3 separate regions of the Homo sapiens genome follow, and regions 2 and 3 are each linked to region 1. The links are contacts of gene promoters, found by promoter capture Hi-C in human tissues and cell types (Jung and others, 2019). All regions are on one chromosome and are shown on one strand. The core of a region is centred on a gene start or on the middle of the fragment in contact, and the rest is flanking DNA. Distances in the headings are between cores, read along the strand shown. Region 1 holds the start of EVX1 (even-skipped homeobox 1). Region 2 has its middle 55 kb from the start of EVX1-AS. Region 3 has its middle 38 kb from the start of EVX1-AS.

Evidence for each region. Contacts are between HindIII fragments. The study calls those that stand out against the background at their distance.
Region 2: a contact is called between a fragment that was not itself captured here and the fragment with the promoter of EVX1 in region 1, in 7 of the 25 tissues and cell types used here (adrenal gland, bladder, liver and 4 more).
Region 3: a contact is called between a fragment that was not itself captured here and the fragment with the promoter of EVX1 in region 1, in 2 of the 25 tissues and cell types used here (bladder and thymus).

The regions. Positions count from the first base shown.
Region 1 is chr7:27,241,454-27,244,121 of GRCh38, forward strand. It overlaps EVX1 (even-skipped homeobox 1), which reads left to right and starts at 1,349. Exons shown (of 3, transcript NM_001989.5): 1 at 1,349-2,004. The coding sequence starts at 1,578. EVX1-AS (EVX1 antisense RNA) reads right to left here. Exons shown (of 4, transcript NR_120507.1): 2 at 462-557; 3 at 96-188. RefSeq lists an enhancer at 967-1,844. The HindIII fragment of the contact is 9,702 bases long and covers 1-2,668 here.
Region 2 is chr7:27,300,771-27,303,438 of GRCh38, forward strand. No RefSeq gene overlaps it. Among named protein-coding and RNA genes, the nearest start is that of EVX1-AS, 55 kb to the left of the region's middle. The HindIII fragment of the contact is 4,293 bases long and covers 1-2,668 here.
Region 3 is chr7:27,283,884-27,286,551 of GRCh38, forward strand. No RefSeq gene overlaps it. Among named protein-coding and RNA genes, the nearest start is that of EVX1-AS, 38 kb to the left of the region's middle. The HindIII fragment of the contact is 6,744 bases long and covers 1-2,668 here.

The DNA of each region.
Region 1 (2,668 bases), core at 99-2,598:
GGAGAGGAGCCAAGAGAGGCCTATGGCAGCTTCCAGATATTAAGTTCCACAACCCCTGCCCCCACCTCCAGCCCTTCATCAGAGTCCCTACTTACTTGCTGTTTTAGGGCATTTTCAGCGACTTCACTCTCTTCTACCTCAAACGCCATCCACTTTTGGAGACAGGTACCACTGCCCCTAGGCAGGGACTTGGGAGAGGACCTTATGAGTCAAACCTCTATGAACCCCAACCTTTTTGTACTCGGGGAGGCTGAACCCCTGCCCAAAATAGCGCGGTGAAAGCTACTGCCTTCTCCCAAGTAGGGGCCTCCAGTACTGCCACAGCAGGGGCCGCATTCCTGGCGCCTCTTCATTCGAAAAACCTCTTTCCAGGAGACTTCGCTGATTCTGAACGAATACTTTAAAATATGGGCAAGGGAAAAAAAAAGACAACTCTTAGAAACTCTCCCCACCCAACATACCTGGAGTGCAGGCGAGGTCCAGGCAAACGGGAAAGCGACTTCTTGTACGAATAGCCATCTCAAGATGAAGCCAGGCTGTGGAAAACTTAAGGCCATCTAGATGGGAAGGAGGTATTTAAAAGAAATCAGCACACACTCTTACAGAAGCCAAGGCGGGTCTTTAAATTAAAAAATAATAATAAGGTATTTATTTCTTGCCCCTTAGGGAAGAAAAATAGCAAAGTTTGGTTCGCAGGAGTAAGGAGACAGAGGTGGGTAGGGAGAGGGAGGAGAAAAGAGGAAAAGATGGCCCAGCCTCAAGCTCTCCAGTCAACTTGGGGCGGGGGAATACATTTTTCCGTAGCTTGTAAAAAGACTTTTCAGCCAGTTTGAGGTTAGCTGCCAGGGGCAGACAGTTGTAATAATGCCGACAGAATTGAGGCTTGTAAGCCGGGCTTCACACTTCTAAAATGCAGTTATGGATTCTTTCATCGGTGTTAGATCAAGGCACCAAGTTAAGAAAACAAAAGTCAAAACAACAATAAAAGAAAAAATCAAAAGCTTATTTAATTACCGAGTCCCGCTGCCCCTGCGGAACTCGCCGCGCGCGTTAAGCTCTCTTTTCTTTCTGCGGAATTCCATTTGCATCCCCTCTGCCTGGGTGTCTCCCTCTCTCAGTGTGTGTGTCTCTCTGTCTGTTTTCACACTCTCCTCCCCAATCGAGCGAGGCCCACACCTGGCGCATCACTGCCGAGCCATTAGCTGCGGGTTTCCTTTCATCTTCGCTGTGGCAGACGTTTCTATTTATCCACTTGCGCTCGCCGAGTGGCGTCACCAGCGGTACTGTAATGACGATTGCAGCAGGAGGATGACAGCTTAGAAAGAAGAGGGCAATGGGGCTTCCTCCCAGAGGCGGTGCGGCACAGAGGAGCGCTCGCTTCACAAGGTGACCCTAGCTCCCACCGCCACCGCCGCGGTCGCGGTCCAGACCGCGCTCCAGCAGCTCCGCGCCCTCCCAGGCACCCGGCCTTTCTTTCTCCCTCTTGCAACCAAGATCCGTCCGGCCGCTGGAGACCCAGGGAGCCGGGGTTAGGAACTCACTTGGGGCTTTCCCCTCCCCCACCGGAGAGCCCCGGGATGGAGAGCCGAAAGGACATGGTTGTGTTTCTGGATGGGGGTCAGCTTGGCACTCTGGTTGGCAAGAGAGTCTCAAATTTGTCCGAAGCCGTGGGCAGCCCGCTGCCGGAGCCGCCCGAGAAAATGGTGCCCCGTGGTTGCCTGAGCCCTCGGGCCGTCCCTCCGGCCACCCGGGAGCGCGGCGGGGGAGGCCCGGAGGAGGAGCCGGTAGATGGACTCGCAGGCAGCGCGGCGGGGCCGGGCGCCGAGCCCCAGGTAGCTGGGGCGGCCATGCTCGGCCCAGGACCCCCGGCCCCCTCAGTCGACAGCCTCTCCGGACAGGGGCAACCCAGTAGCTCGGACACCGAGTCGGATTTCTATGAAGAAATCGAGGTGAGCTGCACCCCGGACTGCGCCACCGGGAACGCCGAGTACCAGCACAGCAAAGGTAGCCACCGTGCCCCTCCGCTCCCCGGGCCTCCCACTGCGCCCACCCTTCACTTCGGCGCAGGCCAGGAGGAAGACACTCCCTTCCCCTAGGGCAGGATGGCTGGGGGGACCCACCTGAGCAACTCTCTCTGCTATCTGCGTTCTGGCGGGGGTCTCCTACTGTGTTCTGGCATTGGCGGGACTGAGGGTGACAGCAGTGCCTTGAGTGCGGGGTGCTGAGGGGGCGGATGCAAGTCCTGGACTTGGGGGATTCGAAGCTCACCCCAAGCACCCAGTGTTTCAACTGCTCGGGGAATGCTTCAATTGCTCGGGGAAGACACTTTCCCCAGGCGAGGGCAAGATCAAACGCCGATCCGGGCAGTTTGTGGCTGGCAGGGTGTAAGAGGCATGGAGGCGCGGAAGCCAGGAGTCCATAAAGGACCGTAAAATTGCGGCCCACTTGGGCAGCCCGGGTGCTGCAGCCCTCCGACCAGTTTGCACGTCGGTCAGAGGTCCAAATTACCTTGTCACTTCCCGGGCTTCGCGGCGCCAGGTCGGAAATGGTCCCAATGGTCTAATTGCCTTTGGTCTCCGGTTGCATTTGAAAAGGCAGAGATCGGGTCCTCCCCCCTTCCCCTTTCCTTCCTAGTCCCACTTCTCCACCCAAAGGAAAAGGAGCTGCA
Region 2 (2,668 bases), core at 104-2,603, 59 kb after region 1:
TCAGATTTGGCTAAGTGTCCCTTTTCTCTCTTTCTCAAGTCAGTTCTTGATACTTTTTGTAGATCAGATTGCTCTTAGTAGAGGTTACCAGTGACCACATATGATGAAGGTGACCATCCTTGGTGACCCTACAATAAGGCTTCCTTGTCATCTCTAGTGCAACCACAATAATATGGGTATGTGAATACTGATTTTTCTTTAGAAAACCTATTTTATGGCAAACACTGACAGAAACCCCTTCTCCATAGTTATTTTCCAGTTAGAGTAGCCATGTGACACTGTTATGACCATAACATAAGTGGAAGTCTGTTGGACACAGTTTCTGGGAAAACTTTTGTTTTTCTGGTAAAAACAGACAAATCCAGCTGGCCTGTGCCTTGCCTTTACTTCTATCTTCTTGTGTGGAATGTAGATGAAATGGCTTGAGGTGCTGCAGCCATCTTGTAATCATGAAATGACAAGCAATTGAATAGAAGCCAACACACCAAATAAATTAAAAAAATACATTTCATATGTTAAGGCACTATTCTTCAGGTTTTGTGCAATCCCACTTTGTGGATTAGGAAACTGAAGTGAGAGTGGTTGAGTGACTTGCTCAAGATCAAACAAGTCCTCTGACTTTAAGCACTGTGCTTTTTCTATGTATTTTGTTAACAAGTCAGAGTCGATACTTTTTACTGTTATTGTGTTCTTACTAAATGCCAGAGTCTATGCTAATCTTTTTATATTCATTACTTTATTTAACCTTTACAAAAGCCCTGTGAAGTAGTGCTATTAACTGAATTCTGTGGCCCCAAGATTCATATGTTGAAGCCCTAACCTCCAGTGTGACTGTATTTGGAGAAAGGGCCTTTAAGAGGTGACTAAGGTTAAATGACATCATAAGGGTGGGACAATAATTTAATAGAATTAGTGTCCTTATAAGAAGAGACACCAGAGAACACCTTCTCCAACCCCTACCATATGAGTTGGCCATCTACAAGCCAGGAAGAGGTTCCTCTCCAGAACCTGAATTGGCCATCACCTTAATCTTGCATTTCCCAGTCTCCAAAACTGTGATAAATCGATTTCTGTTGTTTAAGCCACCCAGTCTGTGGTATTTTGTTACAGCAGCCCGAGCAGACTAAGAGAAGTAGATACTATTATTATGTCCCTTTTACAAATGAGGAAAATGAAGCTTAGAAAAGTTAAGTATTCTCAAGGCCACACAGCTAGTAAGTGGTACTTTTCCTTTCTTCAAGAGACAACATCCTTGTGGCCAATATGTGGTCAGTCCTGTTAATATGTGTATACCAGATTATTTCAATTTTTTAAAGTAGTAAAATAATACTTCAGAACAGTGGTTAGTAAATTTTTTCTGAAAAGAACTAGCTAGAAAATAGTTCAGGTTGGCCGGGCACAGTGGCTCATGCCTGTAATACCAGCAGTTTAGGAGGCTGAGGTGGGTGGACCACCAGAGGTCAGGAGTTTGAGACCAGCCTGGCCAACATGGTGAAACCCCATTTCTACTAAAAATACAAAAATTAGCCAGGCCTGGTGGCATACTCCTATAATACTAGCTACTCAGGAGGCTGAGGCTGGAGAATCGCTTGAACCCAGGGGGCAGAGATTGTAGTGAGCCGAGATTACACCATTGCACTCCAGTCTGGGCGATAAGAGCAAAACTCTGTTTCTCAACAACAACAACAACAAAAAGAAAATAGTTCAGGTTTTGTGGACCATATGGTCTCTGTTGGAACTACTCAATTCTGCACTGTGAAGGCAGCCATGGACAATTCGAGAGTGAATGGGCATGGCCATACTCAGATAAAGCTTTACTTGCAAAATCAGGTAGTGAGCTGGATTTGGCTCATGCCCAGGTCATGGTTTGCTGATTATTGCTTTAAAGCAATGTTAAAATGGCAATGCTTTTAAAATGAGACGTGCTGGGTTTGAATTCTGCTGTGTGACTTTGGGTAGATTCTATAACCTGGGCCTCATTTTCCAAGTTAGAATGGTAACACCTCTGCCAGCCACCAGGGTTGTCGTTGGGATCATGAAAGGTACTAGATGTGGAGGAGCTCTGAAGAAGAGCAAGTGCTTATGCAGATACAATTTGATATGGGTATAATTTGATATCTTTCAGAGTGCTCCTGGAAGCCCTAACCCAGGCAGAACATACTTAGTTTAAAGCCTGGACTCAGCTGAGACTGATATGGGTCACTCAGGGAAGGAAACTCCTCCTTGTACCGGGGGTCTTCAGTGCCCATCAGGCTATAACCTTCAGTGAGATGTGGAGTGGAGCCAGCCCTTGGGTGGATTCCAGGATCCCTGGCTCCCCGGTGGAGAGCTCTCTTCGGCTTTGAGCCTGCATCTTCAGTGCCGGAGCTATTTTTCTGAGCTAGGGAGGGCACCATGGGGAGTGATACTCCTGGTAAGGAAGAAACAGGGCAGCCTGCATCTCTGCTGAACACAAGTCTAAACATGAACAAGGATTCTGGCTGCTTGCCCATGCCGCATGAAACCAGGCTGAGGGCGTTAAGGAGAAGTCAGACAAATGTCTGCCCTTCCTTTCATTCTTTTTGCTTTTGCTCTTTGAAAGTATCTTTTTTTTTTTTTGAGACAGAGTCTCACTCTGTTGTCCAGGCTGGAGTGCAGTGGTGTGATCTTGGCTCACTGCAACCTCTGC
Region 3 (2,668 bases), core at 108-2,607, 42 kb after region 1:
TCCTTCCATTTGTTTAATCATTACCTCTCTTTCATTGGTTTTTCTCCCTTTAGAATTCCTATTACTCACAAAATAGATATCCGTTATGCCTTTTATCTTTTTTCCTCTATCTCTTTATATTTTTGTTATTGAGACATTTCTTCCTTTTGGCCTCTAATTTATACCTCCACAGTGACCAGCTATCCTTTCCCTCAATTCATTTACTAAATTTTTCAATGAAGAAAAGCATACTTTAATTTCCAAAATGTCATTTTATGCTATAATTAAAGGCTGTGCTCTCATTAATTTTTAGATAGACTTAAGTAACAGACTATTTAGGTAGACCCTTACTTTTACTAAGACCTAGTGGAGTTCTTTGGTCTTGTCACAGTTAAGGATGTAGATGGAATCTTGGCCACCTAACCTCTGATCCACCTTTTCCTCCATCTGTGGGGCTATTCACGAGAAACAATTTTGATGTTGTGCAAATAAAACCTACTCTGTAGATCTGAAGGTAAGGCATTTATTTCTGTTGACTTTTCTAAAAGTATGTAGGATAATATTTTAGAGTTCATGGATGTATAATGGAAATAGCCACATGAATTTGTGCTATGAGGATAACTCGGGAAGGACGGCCATCAGACATTTCTGATTTCCCTCAAATATTCTTTCCTAAATTTCACCAAGTTCCATTCTAATATGATTCATAGGCAGTGTCTCCGAATTGTCTCTGCTCCTCTTGTGATGACTTGAATCATACCACATGACAATTAAATGAAAAGGATAAAACTTTATGGGCAATTACTCTGAAAGTCTCTCCACTCAAAACTTGTGTGGCTTTTGTGCCAACCTACTAGTAATAATTAAGTATGGAAGTTATATTAGGCGGAGTAGATTTAGAGTGCAGTAAAGATTATGGAATAATATGGAGGGACTGGTTATTCCAATGGAGAAGAATGAACATGCTTGTTTTGGGTCCTTTTCCAATTACACATCTGTCTCCTGGATTAGTATTAAAACATTCTGTTTTTTAGCATCCTGGGTGCTTAAATTATTTTATGTCTGTTACTTGATGTTCAAGGTATCCCACCAAGGTAGGGAGGAAGATTTTAAAAATTTCTTTTGCTGCTTCATAGTCGGAAAATTGAAGCATAAAAAAGGTACATATAGTGTCTCTTGGATCCAAGAAGGAAAGCAAACCATTTACTTTCAGGGCCATTACATTATCTCTTTGATTTTGAGGCTCTTTAAGCAAGAGATACAACATGCACTGCCTATATAACTTTTAGACCCAACTCACCACTTGTTCCCCCAACTCAAATCCATTGATGTTGTTAACTCTTTCTTCTCTTTGATATTTTCATGGCATCTGATATTGGTGAATCTTACCCTTACCCTCCTGAAGCCATATCTTCCCCTGGCCTATGAGATATACTCCTTTGAGCATATCTTCTTATGCCTTTGATTACCTTCTGCTTCTTTTTCCTCCTCTCATCATCTAAGACCAGTTCTTTTTTTTTTTTTTTTTTTTTTTTTGACAGAGTCTTGCTCTGTTTCCCAGGCTGGAGTGCAGTGGAGTGATTAGGGCTTACTGCAGCCCCAACCTCCTGGGCTCAAGTGATCCTCCCACCTCAGCCTCCCAAGTAGCTGGGACTACAGGTGTGTATCACCATGCCTGGCTAATTTTTCAACTTTTTGTAGAGATGAGGTCTCACTATGTTGCCCAGCCTGGTCTTGAACTCCTGAGTTTGAGTGATCCTCCCACCCAGCCTCCCAGAGTGCTAAGATTACAGGCATGAGCCACTGCACTTGGCCCCAATTCTTGAGAATGTGTTTGTTCATTCAGCTAATATTTACTGAACACTTATGATGTGTCAAGTACTGTGCTGAAAGGTGGTCATAAAAGGGTGAACAAGAAGGTGATATTCATCTTCCTATAGCTCACATCCTAGTGGCGGAGGCAGACAATAAGAATACAAACATAAAATAATGACTAGTTGTAATAAGTGAAATTAAGCATTGTGATAAGTGCAACTAAGGAAATAAACAAGATTTGGTGAAAGAGAATAATGGGATTTGAGTCCACAAACCCTACTTTAAATAGTGTAGTCTGTAGGTGAGACCTGCTGTAAGAAGGAGCTGCTGGGTGAAATATGGGAAGGGAAATTATCCCCAAAGAGGAAACAGGTGCAGAGTCTCTGAAGCGGGACTGACAGAAGGTCATCATGGGCATGAAATAGTGAGTTAGGAGATGGGCATGAGAAGTACAGTCAGAAGAACAGGACAGGGCTCAGATGATAGTGCAGGGCATGGTAGGCTGAGGAAGGAGTTCAGACTTAATCTAAGTAAAAAGAGAACCTTTGAATAGTGTTAAGTAAGGGAACAATAAGGTCAGAGTACATTTTTAAAAGAATGCTTTGACTGCTGTGTAGAAAATGGGCTTTGGGGAGCAAGTCTGGAAGCAAGGAACTAGTTAGGAAGCTCTAGAACAAGTTTGCCCAACCTGTAGCCCATGGGCCACATGTGGGTCGGGACGGCTTTTTTTTTTTTTTTTCAGGACAGTTTTGAATGCGGACCAACACAAATTTGTAAACTTTCTTAAACATTATGAGAGTTTTTTGCAATTTTTTTATAGCTTATCAGCTGTCATTAGGGTTAGTGTATTTTATGTGTGGCCCAAGACAATTCT